7 separate regions of the Homo sapiens genome follow, and regions 2, 3, 4, 5, 6 and 7 are each linked to region 1. The links are contacts of gene promoters, found by promoter capture Hi-C in blood cells and fetal thymus (Javierre and others, 2016). All regions are on one chromosome and are shown on one strand. The core of a region is centred on a gene start or on the middle of the fragment in contact, and the rest is flanking DNA. Distances in the headings are between cores, read along the strand shown. Region 1 holds the start of C7orf25 (chromosome 7 open reading frame 25). Region 2 overlaps NUDCD3 (NudC domain containing 3). Region 3 overlaps INHBA-AS1 (INHBA antisense RNA 1). Region 4 overlaps UBE2D4 (ubiquitin conjugating enzyme E2 D4). Region 5 overlaps YKT6 (YKT6 vesicular SNARE protein). Region 6 has its middle 3.2 kb from the start of TMED4. Region 7 has its middle 210 kb from the start of INHBA.

Region 1 (2,700 bases), core at 9-2,508:
GTGAGGCTCACACTAGGGGATGCTGAATGTTGGTATTGCCGAGCCATTTCTCTAGGGTCTTTTGTCTACTCATTTCTTCAGAGAAAAATAGGGTTATGGGGAGATAGTGGTAGGGAGCGGTAGAGGGGTGCCTGCATTATGGGAGGGGCAGAGAAGGGGGCTGCTAGCATTGCACTATTCAGTAGGAAAACATCATGGCACCTCTCATCCTTTGTTAGGCTTTGTGTCTGGAATCCCTCTGATGCCCTGTCTTTAGCATCTTAAACTAGTCTTCTGCCTGAACAATTTACTGCCCTCCCTTCTACCTTCAAGGCACCTGAAGCTTTCTGGGGTTCTGCTTTGTGAATCAGTGGCTAAATATCCCCTTCTACAAGCAGTTTGCTCAGTTCTCCTGACACCATCTGCAAAGAGGGTGCTTGGGTTCAGGTAACCTCCCTATGGCTCACTTATCTGTAAAGCATACTTAATATCTCTACCTTTTAGGTTGTTTAAAGGAGTGAACAATGTGTAAAACACTTAGAACAATGTCTGTCACGCTGTAAGGACTGAATAAGTTATTGCTCTTGTCCTCCAAAAATGTGTTGGTATAACCGGTCTGCAGTCATCTCTTCTCTTGTTCTTTTTGCCTTTGTTTGTTCCCTTTGTCATTGCTTTACTGTTATTTGGAGAAGGAGCATTGCTTTACTGTTAAGTTTGGAGAAGGAGCAGGATACACAGGATTAATTATAACTGGAAGTCCTCTTTAATATTTTAAATTAGCTTTACTTTCTTACAGCCCTAATCTTTCTGGGTGACTCTGGACACTCTACTACAGTAATATGAATATGGCAGCCCCTCGGAAGCCATGCAATCATTTCTTCTCTTCAGAAGGACAGCACACTTTCTTTGGAGGGCCCAGGACAATGCAGTGGAAAGTGCTTTGGCTTGGAGGCAGAAGTCCCAGAGGCAGTACTTCTCAGCTGTCACCTCTGACAAGCTTCTCCAGCGTTTCTTCTGTTAAAATGAGCCCCCAAAATGCCTACGACCCGGTTGCGATCGAGTGGCCGACGCCCCCAGTGGGAGTGAGGCCCAGCACGCGAGCTCGGTCCCTCTTCCTGGAGCCAGGTGGGTGCGCGCCTTCAGGCTCACCCGGCGGCGCAAGCGGGAGAAGCCAGGTGCCCTCAATAAACATGGCCGCCACGCCAGCGTCAACCCGGCTCGGGAGGCCGCGCTGCCGCTTGGGAATCGCAGGTTTGGCGTCACCCGGCCCGGAACCACGTGATGCAGGAGGTGCCCGAGGCGGCGGGGCTCGCGCGGGTGGAGCCGCCTCGGCGTTCGAGCGGGGTGGGGGCTGCCCGGTTGAGATTTCCCGGCGGGTCCCGGCCTCTGCGTGCACGCGCCTGCGTGCTCGCGCTCGCGGTTCTGGCGCTGCCGGTGAGGAGCCGGGGAGCGAGGCGGGGAGGCTGGGAGCGGGGCGCCTCTTCTGAGGCCAGAGGGGGCTGGGCAGGGCCGGCCCGGCGGGAAGGGGGTCGGCCGCGCGCTATCAGCGCCTGGTCCCTGAGCCGCGGCGCTGGCGGTGGGGGCTTTTCGGCCCCGGCCCCTCCTGGCAGGGCCCGGCTGTGCAGGTGGCCGGGCAGGGCCGAGGGCCCCGCAGCCCACCGAGAAGGCCCCGCCGGCCTCTGGCCCGCCCACCCGGCGACCTGCGCTGGGGCCGCTTGCACGGCCGCCGCGGGTTGCAGCCTTGGAGTTTAGTTTCATCTTCGGATTTTCCTTCAGAGTCGGAGTGGGAGTGGGACGCAAGTTGGTGGTCTTCTTCGGTCTTTTAAAATAGTCTGGGTTGACGTCAAATGCAGAAATGAGGCAGTGTTGATTTTTTTTGGCGTAAGTACCCCAAGCCTCGGGGGAAATCATGAGGCAGCCGGTTGAAGGAGACCAACTCGGGAAGGAGGAAAAGGTTAGGGAGGCTGAAGTGCTCAGTTTAGGACAGACACTTGCTTTGGACAGTTTGCTAACTAGCCAGTCTGTGTGTATTTTTGTTTTCGGCATTTTTGTCGCCTTTATTAAAATTTCTCAGCAGTTAAACAGGCCGCTGATAGACATAAGGGAATTATTTATATAGCAGATTGCCCAACTCTTGCATTGTATCCTAACCTAGGACCATGCTGTGTCCCCATGGCTTTCAAGCTGAAGAAATGAAGGTCTAAAGTGTGTCAGACGTACCTAAAGAAGAGTTCAAAAGTGTAGCTGCCATCCTTTCCTTAGCTATCAGAGGAAGCAGTCACTCCAGAATGAGACATACACAAGCCCGGGTTCATAGACTCACCCTCCATAAGCTGTGTTGCTAGATTGAAGTTTTTAATCACCAGTGAAGAATTGATTGTCATAATTTTAGGAGACTACTGAAGTTTGCCTTGTTTCTTTCCCTAGGAAAGGAATAATGCTGACAGCATGTCTGCACATTCCATGCTCTGTGAACGAATCGCCATAGCCAAGGAACTGATCAAGAGAGCAGAATCACTTTCTAGATCAAGAAAAGGTGGCATAGAAGGTGGTGCAAAGCTGTGCAGCAAATTGAAGGCAGAATTAAAATTCTTGCAGAAAGTAGAAGCTGGGAAAGTAGCTATTAAAGAGTCTCATTTACAGAGCACTAACCTAACACACCTGAGAGCCATTGTGGAATCAGCAGAAAACCTGGAAGAAGTTGTTAGTGTTCTTCATGTC
Region 2 (2,700 bases), core at 199-2,698, 1.6 Mb before region 1:
TAAGACTCCTTCCTGGGGTCTGCCTCTCCACCCCCACCAGATGTGGGATGCTTGGTGTCTCTGCTGAATATAGGCAGAGAAGAATTTGGATGGGAGTGCTGGGCTGCATCATTGTGGAACTTCAAAGCGTTCCCTTAATATTTTGGGGAGTACAGTGTTGGTGTAGAGTTAGGCAGCTCATACGTTTCCTTTTAAAAGTTTGCATAGCCTGGATACACAGCTTGAAGAACCTCAGCAGGAATGATGTATGTGAAAATTGCATTCCATTTTATAATACATTAGTATGTTTTAAGACAAAAATCGTTTAGACTGACAAGCCATTCATTATAATCGATAATGCTGTTTTTTTTGGAGTCCACTTTGAGAAGTGCTCCTTTGTAGAAGTCCTTGAAACTAGAATCAGGAAAGCTAGCTACATCCTGTTCCTTACATAAATTGTTGAGAAATCTTGGGAGAGTCACTTCACCTCTTGTCAGCTGAGAAGATTGATTGGAGGTTACAGATTAGAGTTCTCTTCCAGCCCTATGTTCTGTGACTCTAGAATGAGTACTGAGAACATGTGATAGTTGGGAGGTTGGCAGTGGTAGCACTTCCTGGTGGTGTGAATGGGTAGGTCAGAGAAGGCTGGATGTACTGAGTGAGCAGAGGCAGCTGCATGGTGAGGACTATCAAGTCTGGGGGTTCTGTGTTCGAAGTCTCAGGTGTTAGGAGAGAGAGATCTTGTTGCTTTGCTTTTGTGGAGTTAAGATGAAGATCTGGAGTATCAGCAGGATGAGCAACTCTGAAAGCATGGACTCAAAGCGGTAGAGACCCTAATGTTAGAATGAAGTCAGGGCTTCAGGTTATCTGCAGAAGTAAAAATGGTTCTGGTGTTGTTTCCAGTTTTTAACCTTTTAGGATTTTATTGATTTTTTTTTTTCCCCTCTGCCTACATCATCATCTCCCCACACTGTTTGGTGTGTGCTGCGTAGTTTTTTACTTCTTTTGCCAGCAGGAGCTGGGGCAAGTTACGTAACCTTTCCAAGCCTTATTTTTTTCTCATTTTTGAAATGTTGATGCTGTCTTCTTCACAGTATTTTTGTGAGGGTTTTGAGAGAATGTTTGTAAAATAATTTGACACAGTTAGTCTGTTAGCACCCTTTTGACTGCCCGCGCAGTGCACAGAACATTGTTATTTAATACCTGTCCGCATTCTAGCCCTTTGGAATCTGACTCCCACCCATGTCCCAGGTTGCTGTCTCAGCCTTTCCTTCCTCCAGTTATTGCAAGAGCTTTTGCCCTTCCTTGACAAGCCTATTCTTAGAGCTGTGGCATTTCCTCCAGTGGTTCCCTGTGGAAGATGTGCCTCTCATTCAGGGTCTAACTGGGATCCTCCTTGTTCCAAGAAGTCTCCCTAGATTTCTTTCGCCAGACATGCTCATTCCCACCCATACCCTGACAGGGAATTGAGGGCCTTGTCATGCCCCCTCTTGTATCAGAGTTTTCATGTGTGGGTATGTCTTGACTGTACTTTTTTGGTAGAGAGGTCCCAGCACCTTCATGGGTGTGACTGTTTCCCAGAAAATGTTAAGAACTTGTTTACACACCAGAATTTTGAGTTCTTAGGAGGCAGCAGAAATCATTTTGATGTTTTTTGTGCGTGCGTGTTTCTTGCACACTGTAGGCGCATAGTAGATGTTTGTTGAATTGAATGTCCATGCAGTGTGGTGAAAAACAGCAGCAGTCCTGTAAACCTGGTTCCATTTTGGGAATTGAAGTTCAGCCATATTTTCATGTTTCATTTGTGAGTCTGAATTTTGGTGCCTTTATAACCCACAGTTGTACCAGGACCGTGTATTCTTTGCATTGTGAACAAGACTGGGGTCTGTAAAATAATGACAACAAAGACCATCTAACTGTACATCTTTTAGGTATGTAAATATTGTTAGCCTTGGCTTATAAGTTTCTGATTTTGTTGATTTTGGAATCCTCCTGTTAAACACTGTTTACCTGTCAGCTTTTGGTGAAGTGGCAGTGCATTTCCATTTTGCCAGTGGGAAAACTTGTCAGTTTCTGACTTTTAGTTCTCTCCTTCACAGATTTTACGACATTTCTACAAGATATGTGGTACAGTATTGGGCAGATGAACTGATTGCTGGATTGGTGTTTGATTTTAGGTATTCAAAACCTTTGACCACATGGCCCGTCAGGATGATGAGAAGAGAAGGCAGGAACTTGAAGAGAAAATCAGAAGAAAGGAAGAGGAAGAGGCCAAGACTGTGTCAGCTGCTGCAGCTGAGAAGGAGCCAGTCCCAGTTCCAGTCCAGGAAATAGAGATTGACTCCACCACAGAATTGGATGGGCATCAGGAAGTAGAGAAAGTGCAGCCTCCAGGCCCTGTGAAGGAAATGGCCCATGGTTCACAGGAGGCAGAAGCTCCAGGAGCAGTTGCTGGTGCTGCTGAAGTCCCTAGGGAACCACCAATTCTTCCCAGGTGGGAATTTCTACTTTGCAGCTTCCTTCTTTCTTGCGTAACATCTGGTGTTTGGGTTTCTCCATAATTTATTCTTACTTTGTAACACATTAATTCTTGATCTCAGTATTTATTTAGCTCTTCATGTTTGTAAACTGCTGCATTACAGTCTTTCAGTTATGTAGGATGGGAGGTCAGTTGGCTTAAGGTCAGTTCCCTCATTTGGTAAGGTCAGTAGTCATACAACC
Region 3 (2,793 bases), core at 169-2,668, 1.2 Mb after region 1:
CCACTGTTCATTCTCCTGTGACTTAGATTTTCTATTATCTTCATTGTCACTAAGCATTTTTCAATTCCTATGTGAAACATACCATTGATGTCTTCAAGATTAATAATTCTGCCTTCCTGAAGACAGAATTAAATACAGTGATAACTTATGAGATATTGGATGAGTTTTACTGGCCAACTCAAAAACCCATTACTTGATAGAGCCATTGAGGTTTAATACAATGAATGCCAAGAAAGATCTAGCAGCCATAATTTCAAATGCTACCAAAATGTTACTAAAAATGAGTAATATTTTAAAACATTCCTGCAATTATGTCTTGGTAAATTTTAATTTATGGAGAGCCACAGTTCATAAAATATCGAGGGGCTGATGCTGGACAGGTTGAAGAATCATACAAATCTCAACTAGACTTGGCAGAGGACTTCACAATAATTTGGTGTTCCTTATAATTTGGTGAAGTGAGTTTTCCCTTCAAGGAGACAGAGGCATGGAGACATTTGATAGTATACCTATTACAGAAATGAAGTCAGTGGTAGAGCCAGAATTAAAACTCAGGGCATCTGAGGATCCTATATCTGATATCACCCATTTAGCCACATAAAGGATGAATTGAGTCACCAGTGAAAATTCTGGGGGAGGGGGCCCTAAAATAATTTCTTCTGACTATGCTACATCTTATCTTGCCACACTGTGGGTGACAGAGCCTGTCCTCATTATCTTATGCCCAACCATGAGCCCTTGTGTAGGAGAAGTGAGAAAAATGAAGTCTGTGGTGTGATTTTGATTGTCATGTGGGAAGAGGATGTAAACGGCTCCCTCCTCATGGACTGGGGATCTGAGTGTGCAGGCCTTTAAACATGGATCCAGGGCACGGCTCTCTCTTCTCTGCCTGACAGCTGAGAGCGCACCTCCTACTTCCTTGGCCACAAGCACACATTTTTAATAAGACATCAGTTGAGCAGTAGAATATCGGATATGAGTTTTAATTGCATTCTGCTTCCCATAAGTTCTACCCCCTCATTGTTAAGGAAAGTATCACTACCTTTGGGTTCACAAAGAAGCTTTCTTGATGGGCAGTCTCCAAATTTTACATAAAAATTCTGATGAAGATAATACCCACTTCACCAGCGTGTGGTGCAAAATAATGTCTCCTTTCTTCTGGTGTCCAAATCCTATTGACTCCAAGCCTTTGTTCCACTGATCGCGAGAAAGCTCTCCCTCTGCATGTGCTTCAAATGCATTCTAAGTGGAAGGGGACCCGTGGTGATTAATAACCCTTTGCAGAGGAGGAAACTGGGAAGTCTGGCCATTTCCTCTGAGGGAGTGCTTTCTCTACTGCCATTGTCACTGCCTGGTGTGATCAGCAGGTGAATATTCTAGGGCAAGGCCACAAGCCCCAAAGCACTGAAGAGCACCTGGCCTTACTTCTGAATCCAGGGTGAGGAAGAAACTGCTTTTCCTCTCAGGCTTATTCTCATCTATGGGTGCTTCACACCACTCCCAGCCCAAATTCCAAGATATAATCCTATCACTTTATACTCAGACACAGACATTTTCTCCAGGGCGCATCATGGTGCCTGGACACTGGTTCGGGGGCGGGGAGAGGAGGTTACAGAACCCGATTTGCCAGAAAGTGCTCACCCCACCAACAACAAGGCCCCAGCGTTAAGCCTAAATCCACCTCTCCTGGGAGCCCCTTGTCTCATCTGTTGGCCTCATCCAGAAAAACACCATGATATCAGATATCCTCTAATAACTCAAAACCTCAAAGCTTTCATTTCTTTCCTTGCAGATGGCTATTTGGCCCTTAATAGAAATCTGTTGCTACAAATAGATGCAGATGAGAGGGGCAGTGCCCAGCTTTATCCACCTGGGAAAATTGTGCCTCAGCAACTTGCTATATTCACAAGATCATGGTTTGCTTGCCTCATATCACAAATGGCTACCTATTCTCCCCCCCAGAAAATTATTTGTTGTGCTGCTAAAACTAGAAATAACTGGAGCTGTTTGATGTCAGTTTTCAAAAAAATAAAAATAAAAATAAAACAAACAAACTAACTAATCAAAAAGATCCACTAACATGTCTTGGGCTAAGTGGTCGTCTCAATAAAAACATTGTTGTTGAGGAAGAAGAGAGAGCTCTGATAAAATAGTTTTGTGTATGAAACAGTAACCATCAACATAGATGTTCTGAATATGTTATGGACCAAGAGAAAGCTCATGAAATCTAATATGGCAAAGAAACTGAGGGTTGGAGGAAGAAAACTCCACCTCAGTCATATAGATCCCAGAAGATGCCCAAGTGCTGGATAATGAGGAAACAGATATCAGAGTGACCTGCCAGGACCCAAGTGGACCAGAGTTAAGAACATTCCACACATCCTTTCTGTGGACAAAGTTAAGGCTGGGCAGATTGCACCCCACTCAAGTTTAGGTAGGGTGGAATAGCATCTAACATAAGCCTAGATTCAGCATATAAGGCAAATGTTATGTATAATTAAAATATCTTGAAAAATCTCACAATCCATCCATAGGTTCAGAAAGTATTGTTTTGTGGGCATAACCCCAGAAGAACATCAGGTTCGCATCTATTTCTCTATTCTTGGGCATACGCATTGAGTGACAGGTGGTATCACCTACGGCATTGTCATGTTCTCTCTTTTTCTCAAGTGCATAGAGTTGGAGTCACGTGAGTTGCATGTGTATATGACGTGGCTACATTGTATGCGGGAAGGGGAAGCATGTCCATGTGGCATCTTGAAAAAACTAATCACACAAGGGAAAGGCAGTATC
Region 4 (2,700 bases), core at 66-2,565, 1.0 Mb before region 1:
TGTACAGTGGTTCATGCCGGTAATCCCAGCACTTTGGGAGGCCGAGGTAGGCAGATCGCCTGATGTCAGGAGTTCGAGACCAGTTTGGCCAACATGGTGAAACCCTGTCTCTACTACAAATACAAAACTTAGCTGGGCTTGGTGGCATGTGCCTATAACCAGCTACTCAGGAGGCTGAGGCACAAGAATCGCTTTAGAGGGTGATGCCATGGGCAGGGCAGAGCATCTGGGGTCTTTTGGGAGCCTCCAATCCCCAACAGTTTCGCAGAACACTGATATCTATGGACTCTAAAATGGGCTTCATTTAAAGAAACCCACAGACCATTAATGGACAAAAACATGAATCTATATGTATTGTGACATTCCAGTCCTGGCACTGTGGGAGAGCATCAAGTACCACGTTTTTGAAGACCATGGCCTATCATCATTATGCGTTCAAGATCTGAGTTTGAATAACCTCATCAAGACTTAGATCTTCTTCAAAAGCTTCAAGTCTCATCTGCATTAAAGCTCTCCATTGAACCCTCTCACAAAAGTGCAAACTTAAAGGGACTAAAATCCGTTAACACATTCCATTTTATATCCCTTCTTCTGACTTCTCTTCAATTTCCTTGGCCTCTGGGGCCCTTTATATTGCTTATGTTCCTTTAGGGCCAAAGTGACAGTGCTTTCCAAAAAAAAAAATATGTATTCTGTGGCCATAAGTTTACAGAGAAGCATAAATTTAGCATGATGAATTTAGAATTAGGTCTTTTATGGTATTCTGTAAAAAGTTGAATTAATAATAAGAAAATGAGGATGAAGCAGTAAAAATATTTTGGGTTAGAATATACTCTCCAAAGCTATGTGGTTTAGAGAAAAGGGCCCCCAACCTAAAAGTTAATAGTTCTTATTCTGTCTCTGCCTTTTACTAGGTAACTGAGAAAGTCACTTAACCTCTCTGAACCTTAACTTCATTATCTATAAAGCGTAACTGATATTTTCCCCTCCCTACCTCACAGGGTTGTTGTGAGGAACAAGTGAAACAATGTACATAAAAAGACATATAAAATGTATAATACAGACAAAGGGTCCTGTTACGTAGTTGGAAGTCATTCCCTCAGATCTTGGGCCTAGGAAGATAGGTGATTTAAGCTCACTGAAAGCATGTACCATGTCCAGGCTGAATACATGGTAACAAGGCTATGTTACATTTTTTTTTTCCCTGAGTTGAGTACCTAAAATACCACATGGGCTAATTCTAAGAAGGAGCACCACTATATATTTCCCTAAAATTATAGCTTAGCATTGTTAATGCTCTAGAGCAGTTATGCATTGTAACATATTAGTGATTTGTGAAAGATTTTTACTAAAACGTGACCAGCATTTTTCTTTAAATGAAAGAATGTAGAATATTTCACAATGCATCCCATGTGATGAGAAAAAATATTTTTTTTAGTTATATGTACATATGCATGTGTGTGAATGTGTGTGTGTACTTGGTCATTAAATAAAATGTACTTTTTCTTCTTGTGGGAAAAAAAAAAAAGAATTGCTTTAGCCCGGGAGGTGGAGGTTGCAGTGAGCCAAGACTGCGCCTGTGTGACAGAGTGAGATTCTGTTTCAAAAAATTAAAAAATTAAAATTACTTTTATCAAAAGAATTATTTTAGGCTTAAACATAGCTTTGTGTGTTTCTTGTTAAGTATCATTCATGAATACAAAAAAAAAAAAAAGGAAAAACAAGTGAAATAAATAAACTGGTTTGTTCAGGTATTCCTAAAGTTTCTTCCCATTCAGAGCCCAACACTGAGTCATTGATGTCTACACAATATCATCCTCTGTGTCTTCCAAAACAATGGTAATGTGGCAATTCTTAGAGTCCTCTACTACTCTTCCTGGAGTTTTCTTTCAAGCCATGAATACTTATTCTGCAAAGGCCCATGATACACAATCTATTTGCACGTATTCCAGAAAAAAAAAAATGACCCAGTCTCACCAACTTGAGGGTAGGTGGTACCTTCCTTTCTGTGGCTATGAAGAATTTGGTTGCTTGACATGGAATTAGGAAATTCCAGTCCTTCCTCCAACAACAAATATTTGCTCCCTTATTATGAAATTTACTCGTCGTTGTCCTGTTTCTGTGCCTGTGTTCACAAAAGCTTTTCTTTTCAGTGCTAAATCACACTATCTTTTTGAAAATATTTTTAAAACAATTAAACTCAACAAATATAGTACCAGCAATGCACTTACCTCATAATGAACTGCCATGATGGTTTACTCATACAGATAGTGACATCTAAGTGAAGGTAACCTGGCTGACAGCTATTGTAAGAAGCATCCCAATTTCAGAGACGTGAACATTTGAAAAAATATTCATCTTGAAGTAGATGAATATGGTATTATCTTATTTCCAAGTTCTCTTTATTTTTTATTTTTATTTTTAGAGACAGGGTCTCACTGTGTTGCCCAGACTGGAGTACACTGGCACCATCTCGGCTCACTGCAACCTCTGCCTACTGGGTTCAAGCAATTCTGGTGTCTCACCCTCCAGAGTAGCTGGGACTGATTACAGGAACGCACCACCATGCCCAGCTAATTTTTGTATTTGTAGTAGAGATGAGTTTCACCATGTTGGCCAGGCTGGTCTCAAACTCCTGACCTCAAGCGATCCTCCTGCCTCAGCCTCCCAAAGTGCTGGGATTACAGGCCTGAGCCACCA
Region 5 (2,739 bases), core at 156-2,655, 1.3 Mb before region 1:
TCTGCTTTCTTAAAAAATCTTTTCAGAGCAGCCAAAAGACAGGAAATTACCCCCCAGGGCCTCAGTCTTCCATATTATAGCAACCTGCTGGGTTTGCTCCACTCTGGTGGGTGACTGGGAGTAGGGGGGTTAGTCTAGAAAAAGATTAGCTACTGCCAGCTAAGGCCTCCAGAGCACTGTGCTAAAATCCTCATATGATTGAAAGGTACAGTTGTACAGGTCTTCCGCAAAATATTCACAATCCACAGGATTGTTCATTTCCATCACTTTGAAAGGATTCAGAGTTGATACAGCTAACCATATCCCCAAGGAAAGAGAAATGTAAGGATTACAGCTTACAAATAAGAACCTTCTTGTCCTTAAGGATCTGACCCAGAAGATTCCAATGCTAAACAACAGAAAAACAAATAAAAGAGGAGGGAATGATGGTGAGCCCCTGAAATCAGAAAAGAGCAGAGATAAATGAGAACAAGAATGAGGAGGAGGAAGAGGACAGGGGGTTGTCACCAATGCTCTCCAGATTTTGTATACCATCCCCAATTAAGATTCAAACATGGGGTCAAAGTGCATACCCTCCAAAGAAACTGAGAACCTGGTCAGTGGAGGAATTGTCTTTAAGTAATAAACGTGGGAAGGGCAGGCACAGTTTGAAGAACAGAGCAAGAACACTGAAATATTTGTGATGCGATTTCACTTCTATGATGTTAATAGCACAGAGATCCCACATAAAGTGTATATAGTCAATCCTGCCTGTATCATAACTGACATTTATATCATCAATTCAGTAACTCTATGTCACGTGACTTGAGGTTAGCATAAGTGTGAGATGATCTTTGTCCCTACCTGATGAAACTCATGTAACTCTTTCCTGATCTGTCTGTATAACATACACATCTAAATAAATGCCTAAACCTGAATTATCAGAAAGAAAAAATAGTTTTTTCAGATTCCTGATCAAAAAATCTACGATGCACAGAATACATATAGTACCTCAACAGTGCTAGCTGGAAATCCTTTTTTGAGGGGTCTGCAACTCTGAAGAGGATAGGGAAGAATACGATATGAAGGCTGCTTACTGCTCCAAAAGAGTCAGACCCTAATCTTAAATGAGTCTAAGTTTGAGGGCAATTTTATCTGGGAAGCTCAGACTTCAACAGTGGGCACAGAATTCTGCATAAATAGGAAAAGGAAGAGGTGGGAAAGAGAGAACAAGCTAGAGGAGGAGTAGGGTCCCAGTAGAAAGGAGAAAGCTGGGTGCTATGTGAGGTGAGGCATGGCAGCCAGGCCAGCACACGCACAGAAGTTGGAGGGTCTTCTTACCTTGTTCTTTGACAGAAGCTCTAGTGCCTTTCGATGAGCGCTCCACAATCAGTTGACTCGTGAAGGTCATGAATTCCTGAACGCTAAGAAACACAAAATGTATTTATTGCCTACTTCTTATCACCTTGTCCCCAACACAGTGGAAAGTGACCTCTGGGCTTATACATTAAGTAGACATTGCTTCTTGGTTTCATTCCTTTCCCTCCCATCCCTAGTAACAAACACTCTATAAATGAGCACAAATACTGATAATTATGAATTATCATCACCATGAAAGCTCCATCTGTTTGCTACCTGGCTCACCAAAACAGGTGAATTTTCTGGGGGGTTTTTCCACAGGATACAGTCAATTTTACATTTTGGTGAATGCATAATTTGGAATGCAATGGAAAAACAAGAGGCAGGTCCTGCTCTCAAGGTCCCAATAACTTCCAAGAAGCAGGACATTTATAAGAACTGCACTAGAAGAATAGTGTGCAAAAACTGTCAGGCAGAAATGCACAACCATTTATGGCTGTGTCCACATGACAGACCCTCGCAATGCCACATACACCCATAGTGAGTGCTGGCTCAGGTCTGCTGGGGCTCGTCCACAGAACGAGCGCAAGACACTCTGGATGGAACAAAAGGAAAACTGCTCATCCAAGACAAAGAAGTGGGAAATGGCTCATACAAAGGGTGAAAGGGAGAAGGTCCATCATGGGCTCAACAGAGAGATCTATCCAGAACAGAACAGTCACAGGAGATGGTACAGCCAGAGGAAGAGGTGCTGACAAGGAGCCTCCAACTGAGGATGTGATATAAAGGGCAACCAGGGCCATCAAAGCAGGGTGCTCAAATGGGAGTCTGCAGCAGGCTCCAGCAGAGCCATATAGGTAACTGAAGGCCTGACTCTGGGCCTGTGTGCTGTGCCTCCACATTAAAAAAATCAAGATTTGTGCAACAGTTAAACGAGGTAATACGTGTAAAGCACTTGGAACAATGCCTGCACACACAGTATTACTTGTTAATATCTTGAGGGACTGAAGTGATCAAAATAACCCCTCAGAAAAGAAGACCTCAAACAAGGAAGGCTTTGCAGTAAACCTAGAGACAGCATTTGAGACACGGCTATAAAGAGACAAAGGAAGAACTGCATTGTGACAGCATGTATACAAAGACCAAAAAAGCTGGGAAACTACTTTTTCAACTTTGGAATCGGGTAATTATAGGGCACAAAGGACGTAAGTAAAGCGGTCTTATAAGAAAACAAGCTCAGGCCGGACGTGGTGGCTCAAGCCTGTAATCCTAGCACTTTGGGAGGCCAAGGCAGGCGGATCACTTGAGCTCAGGAGTTCGAGACCAGCCTGGCTAACATGGTAAAACCCCATCTCTACTAAAAATACAAAAATTAGCCGGGTGTGGTGGTGCGCGCCTGTA
Region 6 (2,836 bases), core at 134-2,633, 1.7 Mb before region 1:
AATGAAGGACGGGGTGGCTGGTCTAGACAAAGAGCCTAGACAAACATCGGCAGAAATTGCTTCATGGCTTCTGAGCAGAAAAATCTCTCATCTGGGGAATTAGACTCCCTAAGTTAAATTTTCTTTCTTTTTTGGAGATGGGGTCTCACTCTGTTGCCCAGGCTGGAGTGCAGCAGCACCATCACAGCTCACTGCAGCCTCAACCTCCTGGGGGTCAAGCAATCCTCCCACCTCAGCCTCCCGAGTAGTTGGGACTACAGGCCCATGCCACCATGCCCAGCTAATTTTTTTTTTGGTAGAGACAGGGTGTCACCATGTAGCCCAGACTGGTCTTGAACTTCTGGACTCAAGCGATCTTCCTGCCTCGGCCTCCCAAATGCTGGGATTACAGGCATGAGCCACAGTGCCTCACCTCCTAAGTTAAATTTTCTGCAGTGGAGAATACAATCTCTTTAATATTATCTCTCAGTTAAGACAAATTTCAGGATCCTCCTTAAAAAAAAAAAAAAAAAGAAAGAAAATAAGTTTGCCAATACAAATACCATTTCTCACTAAAGTGAATTAGGGTTCCTTGGAGAAATGGTTGGTTTTGTTTCTGGGCAGTAAATGTATAAAACGGAAAGCAAGGAAGTCCAGGGTGTCCAATCTTTTGGCTTTCCTGGGCCACACTGGAAGAAGAAGAATTGTCTTGGGCCACACATAAAATACACTAACAATAGCTGATGAGCTAAAAAAAAAAAAATCTCATAATGTTTTTAGAAAGTTTATGAATTTGTGTTGGGCTGCATGGGCCACAGGTTGGACAAGCTTGACCTAAAGACTACTAGGATTGTGGATTACTAGGATTGTGCCAGAAGGACACAGCAGCAACTAAATATTTGATGAGACAATCTGAACATTTAAAAAAGGACAATGACTGTAATGGATTAAAGCACATCAAATATCTAAACATCCATCAATTCATGATAGCACTGCCCCTTCTCCCCAAAGAACCCAAAGTGGTCACAGTTAGAGGTTGCTGGGGCATCCATCCATCCATCTTTATTATTATTACTATTATTTGAGACAAGGTCTCACTCAGTCACCCATGCTAGAGTGCTGTCGTCCCATCACGGCTCACTGTATCCTCAACCTCCTGGGCTCCAGCCATTTCCCTGCCTCAGCCTCCTAAGTAGCGGGAATTACAGGCATGCATCACCATGCCTGTCTAATTTTTACATATTTTGTAAAGATCTTGCCATTTCCTGGGCTCAAGCAGTCCTCCTGTCTTGGCCCCCCAAAGTGCTGGGATTATAGGCAGAGCCACTGTGCGTGGGAAAGCATCAAGCATACATCCTGGCTATCCCGAATGGATTGTATTTCAAAGTAACCAGAGAGATGAGGGAATGCTCACCTTTGTAGAAGAATCTCATCTTATAAATGCAGGAGAAATGAGAGCATTTGAAATTACCACTTTGCACACCTAAGGAACATCATAAAACTACACTAGGGTTTCTCAACCTGGGTACTACTGACATTTTGAGCTGGATAATTCTTCGCTGTGGGGGGGAGGTGTGCTCTGTGAATTATACAATGTTTAGCAGTATTCCTTGCATTCATTTTCTAGATAACAGCAGTACCACCCGCCACCCCCCACCCAGTTGCAACAATCCAAAATATCTCCAGACATTGCCAAATTTCCCCTTGGTAGGACAGGGCAGAATCAACCCTCGTTGAGAACCAATGGTCTAATGATCATCAACGTTTGCTAGACTATTAGAAGAAAGGCTGATGGTAAACTTCATGGATAATCAGGATGACAACCCCCAAATTGAGAGATGAATTACAATATTACTAAGAGACAAACCCGCCTTGTGCCTCAGTAGAAGTACATAGTGCCAGCCACGAAGCGTTATTGCAAACAAAACAAAACAAAAAAACCCAAACCTCAACATTACACCTAAACCTAATGAAGCTTCTAGCCAGGGGCAAATCCAAGCTTTGTGGGGCCTTAAACTATACAAATTTCACAGTCCTCTTTAAGAAAAAGACACAAAATTATAAATGCGAAATTAGGTACGGGGGTCTATGCAAGGGAGGGCCTGAAGATTAAGCTTCATTAGTTTCACTGTAAACCTCCCCTGACTCTAGAATTAACTGTGATTACAGGACATACCAGGGACAAAAAACGTTAAATGACACCTGAAGATACAATCAGCAAAACCCAGAAAGTGGAAAATTCTGTTGGTCAAATGACCCAGTTTCTTCAATAAGTAAATGCCATGAATAACAAACAACAAAAAGAGAGGGGAAATTTATATATATAATATATATATAATATGTATAATATATATATATGTTGTTATATGGTTTGTTTTTTTTTTTTTGGACACGAGTCTCTCTCTCACCCAGGCTGGAGTGCAGTGGCATGATCTCGGCTCACTGCAACCTCTGCCTCCTGGGTTCAAGCGATTCTTCTGCCTCAGTCTCCCAAGTAGCTGGGACTACAGGTGAGCACCACCACACCCAGCTAATTTTTGTATTTTTGGTAGAGGTAGGGTTTCACCATATTGGCCAGGCTGGTCTCGAACTCCTGACCTCGTGATCTGCCCACCTTGGCCTCCCAAAGTGCTGGGATTACAGGTGTGAGCCACTGCGCCCGGCCCTGTTTTTGTTTGTTTTGAGATAGAATCTCACTCTGTTGCCTAGGCTGGAGTACAGTGGCATCATCTCAGCCCACTGCAACCTCCACCTCCCTGATTCTAGCAATTCTCCTGCCTCAGCCTCCCAAGTAGCTGAGATTACAGGTGTGCACCACCACACCTGGCTAATTTTTGTATTTTTAGTAGAAACAGGG
Region 7 (2,774 bases), core at 253-2,752, 1.0 Mb after region 1:
ATCTTTTATAAATTACACAGACAGCAAGTTCTGCCTTGGTACTAGTTTCCATGCTATGACCTGAGGAGCATTCCTGACCTATAGCCTTGCTGTCCCTTACAATTCCTTATGTTTCCTCCTTGAGGGTATAATTCAGGTGTAGGGAGGATCTTGATCAATGGGCTATTACATAGGTAAGTAAATCAAAAGAACGGGGAAGAGAAAAATGTAAAACCACTAGCAGTTAAGCTGTTATATTTTAACTTGCAAATGACTTAAGGAAAGATTCTAGGGCCTGAATAAACTAAAATAAATCTTATGCAAGTGTTAAGTATTCTTGTAGTGCTCTTTGCATAATCTGTGCTTCTAGGGTGACCTTCATTTCAATCTGGGAGGAATTCTTCATCATCTCTCCTTGATGAAAAGTGTTGAATATCAACGTCTCTGGAATGGAATTACTTCTTGAGAAAAGGCCAGATGGACCAGATCTATATTACTTTCATGGTGTATTAGTTATCTACTGCCTGTAAGAAATTATCCCAGAACTAAGTGGCTTAGCACATCAGGCATTTATTATCTCAGTTTCTGTGAATCATGAACTTGGGTGTGATTGAGCTGGGTGGTTCTGGCTCTGGGTTTCTCATGCACTTGCAATCAAGGTGTCTTCCAGGGCTGCAGTCATCTGGAGATGTGAATGCAGCTGGAGGGTCTGCTTCCAGGCTCAGTCACGTGGCAGTCATCAGGAGGCCTCAGTTTCTCCTAGGAGACTCTCCATAGGTCAGCAGGAGCATCCTTCCAATACGGCAGCTGCTTCCCCCAGAGTGAATGACCCAAGAGAGAGAGTAGAATAAAAGCCAAAATACCTTTTATGATCTGTCATCCGGAGTCGCACTGCTTTATTTCTGTCACACTTCAGTGTCAGCACGAGCCCACATTTAAGGCGGGAGAAAAATCAAAGAATTTGTGGAAGTGTGTTAAAACAGCACAGATAGTAAATATTAAAGATAGTTAAAATGCAAATTCAAAGAAAAGAAAAACTATCAATTTAATAGAATAACATAATTTTTATTAAAAATTAAAAATTTAAATTTTAAATTTAAAATATTACTTTAATAGAATTAAAGCATAAAAAGAAAACAGCTTTAATTAGCAGTAGAATAAGCCATCCAATGGAAATGAGAGAAAAATCACATCTTTGATTATTTAAAGACCATAAGAGATGGTAGAGTTTTCATGAGCTATCTTCACAGCTTCCTCTCCCCATCACTTAAAAAATTATTTTACTGAAGTAATATATGCACATGCTTAAAATCATTAAGTGGCGCCAAACTCCGATAATAGTGTCTTTTGCTCCAAGCCTCCCCAGCCAATAGTCCTACACTCTAGAGGCAAACACTTTAATTCCTGTGTTGATTCTTTATATGTTAACTCTCTATCTCCACATACGTCTCTGCTATTATTTCTAGGTTTACCAATTTGAGATATTTTCTATTTACTAACCGTTACTGTTACCGGAAAGGGGTCCTGACCCAGACTTCAAGCGAGGGCTCTTGGACCTCACACAAGAAAGAATTTGGGACAAGTGCATAGAGTAACGTGAAAGCAAGTTTATTACGAAAGGAATGGAATAAAGAATGACTGCTCCATAGGCTGAGCAGGGAGATGGGTTGCTCAACTGAGTATACTTATAGTTATTTTTTGATTATATGCTAAACAAGGGGTGGATTATTCATGAGTTCTCTAGGAAAGGAGCAAGGATTTCCCAGAACTGAGGGTTCTTCCCTGTTGCAGGAAGTCAGGGACCCTGAACAGAGGGACCGGCTGGAGCCGTGGCAGAGGAACATAAATTGTGAAGATTTCATGGACATTTATCACTTCCCAAATAATACTTTTATAATTTCTTATGCCTGTCTTTACTTTAATCTCTTAATCCTGTTATCTTCGTAAGCTAAGGATGTACGTCACCTCAGGACCACTGTGACAATTGTGTTAACTGTACAAATTGATTGTAAAACACGTGTGTTTGGACAATAAGAAATCAGTGCACCTTGAAAAAGAGCAGAATAACAGTGATTTTTAGGGAACAAGGGAAGACAACCGTAAGGTCTGACTGCCTGTGGGGTTGGGCAAAAAGAGCCATATTTTTCTTCTTGCAGAGAGCCTATAAATGGACGTGCAAGTAGGAGAGATATCACTAAATTCCTTTCCTAGCAAGAAATATTAATATTAATACCCTGGGAAAAGAATGCATTCCTAGGTGGAGGTCTATAAACGGCCACTCTGGGAATGTCTGTCTTACGTGTTTGAGATAGGGACTGAGATACACCCTGGTCTGCAGTGCCGTCAGGCTTACTAGGGTGGGGAAAATCTCCACCCTGGTAAATTTGTGATCAGACCAGTTCTCTGCTCTTGAACCCTGTTTTCTGTTATTTAAGATGTTTATCAAGACAATATGTACACTGCTGAACATAGACACTTATCATAGTTCTGCTTTTGTCCTTTGCCTTGTGATCTTTGTTAGACCTTTACTAGTAGTTCTGCCTTTTGCCCTTCGAAGCATGTGATCTTCGTACCTACTCTCTGTTCTTACACCCCCTCCCCTTTTGAAACCCTTAATAAAAACTTGCTGGTCTGAGACTCAGGCGGGCAGCACGGTCCTACTGATATGTGATGTCACCCCTGGCAGCCCAGCTGCAAAATTCCTCTCTTTGTACTGTCTCTGTTTATTTCTCAGCTGGCCGACACTTATGGAAAATAGAAAGAACCTACATTGAAATATTGGGGGTGGATTCCAC

Evidence for each region. The method cuts DNA at HindIII sites, captures the fragments that hold promoters and counts their contacts. A CHiCAGO score of 5 or more calls a contact.
Region 2: a contact is called between a fragment that was not itself captured here and the fragment with the promoter of C7orf25 in region 1, in 5 of 17 cell types (neutrophils, fetal thymus, non-activated CD4 T cells and 2 more). The highest score is 11.4, in neutrophils.
Region 3: a contact is called between a fragment that was not itself captured here and the fragment with the promoter of C7orf25 in region 1, in 1 of 17 cell types (M2 macrophages). The highest score is 5.5, in M2 macrophages.
Region 4: a fragment that was not itself captured here is called in contact with the fragment with the promoter of C7orf25 in region 1 in 1 of 17 cell types (total CD8 T cells); the score reaches 5.0 in total CD8 T cells.
Region 5: a contact is called between a fragment that was not itself captured here and the fragment with the promoter of C7orf25 in region 1, in 1 of 17 cell types (non-activated CD4 T cells). The highest score is 5.6, in non-activated CD4 T cells.
Region 6: a contact is called between a fragment that was not itself captured here and the fragment with the promoter of C7orf25 in region 1, in 1 of 17 cell types (fetal thymus). The highest score is 6.2, in fetal thymus.
Region 7: a contact is called between a fragment that was not itself captured here and the fragment with the promoter of C7orf25 in region 1, in 1 of 17 cell types (megakaryocytes). The highest score is 5.3, in megakaryocytes.

Annotation. Positions count from the first base shown.
Region 1 is chr7:42,910,628-42,913,327 of GRCh38, reverse strand. It overlaps C7orf25 (chromosome 7 open reading frame 25), which reads left to right and starts at 1,258. Exons shown (of 2, transcript NM_001099858.2): 1 at 1,258-1,413; 2 at 2,407-2,700. The coding sequence starts at 2,428. RefSeq lists a silencer at 1,427-1,686 and enhancers at 1,035-1,731, 1,732-2,429. The HindIII fragment of the contact is 2,903 bases long and covers 979-2,700 here.
Region 2 is chr7:44,484,741-44,487,440 of GRCh38, reverse strand. NUDCD3 (NudC domain containing 3) reads left to right here. Exons shown (of 6, transcript NM_015332.4): 2 at 2,157-2,473. Among named protein-coding and RNA genes, the nearest start is that of NUDCD3, 4.6 kb to the left of the region's middle. The HindIII fragment of the contact is 6,811 bases long and covers 1-2,700 here.
Region 3 is chr7:41,736,948-41,739,740 of GRCh38, reverse strand. The region is part of intron 2 of INHBA-AS1 (INHBA antisense RNA 1); the gene reads right to left. Among named protein-coding and RNA genes, the nearest start is that of INHBA, 35 kb to the right of the region's middle. The HindIII fragment of the contact is 710 bases long and covers 1,064-1,773 here.
Region 4 is chr7:43,933,468-43,936,167 of GRCh38, reverse strand. All of the region lies in intron 1 of UBE2D4 (ubiquitin conjugating enzyme E2 D4), which reads right to left. Among named protein-coding and RNA genes, the nearest start is that of UBE2D4, 8.4 kb to the right of the region's middle. The HindIII fragment of the contact is 1,654 bases long and covers 489-2,142 here.
Region 5 is chr7:44,203,232-44,205,970 of GRCh38, reverse strand. YKT6 (YKT6 vesicular SNARE protein) reads right to left here. Exons shown (of 7, transcript NM_006555.4): 2 at 1,321-1,403. Among named protein-coding and RNA genes, the nearest start is that of YKT6, 3.6 kb to the right of the region's middle. The HindIII fragment of the contact is 5,882 bases long and covers 1-2,739 here.
Region 6 is chr7:44,583,996-44,586,831 of GRCh38, reverse strand. No RefSeq gene overlaps it. Among named protein-coding and RNA genes, the nearest start is that of TMED4, 3.2 kb to the right of the region's middle. The HindIII fragment of the contact is 1,147 bases long and covers 810-1,956 here.
Region 7 is chr7:41,908,940-41,911,713 of GRCh38, reverse strand. No RefSeq gene overlaps it. Among named protein-coding and RNA genes, the nearest start is that of INHBA, 210 kb to the right of the region's middle. The HindIII fragment of the contact is 4,179 bases long and covers 1-2,774 here.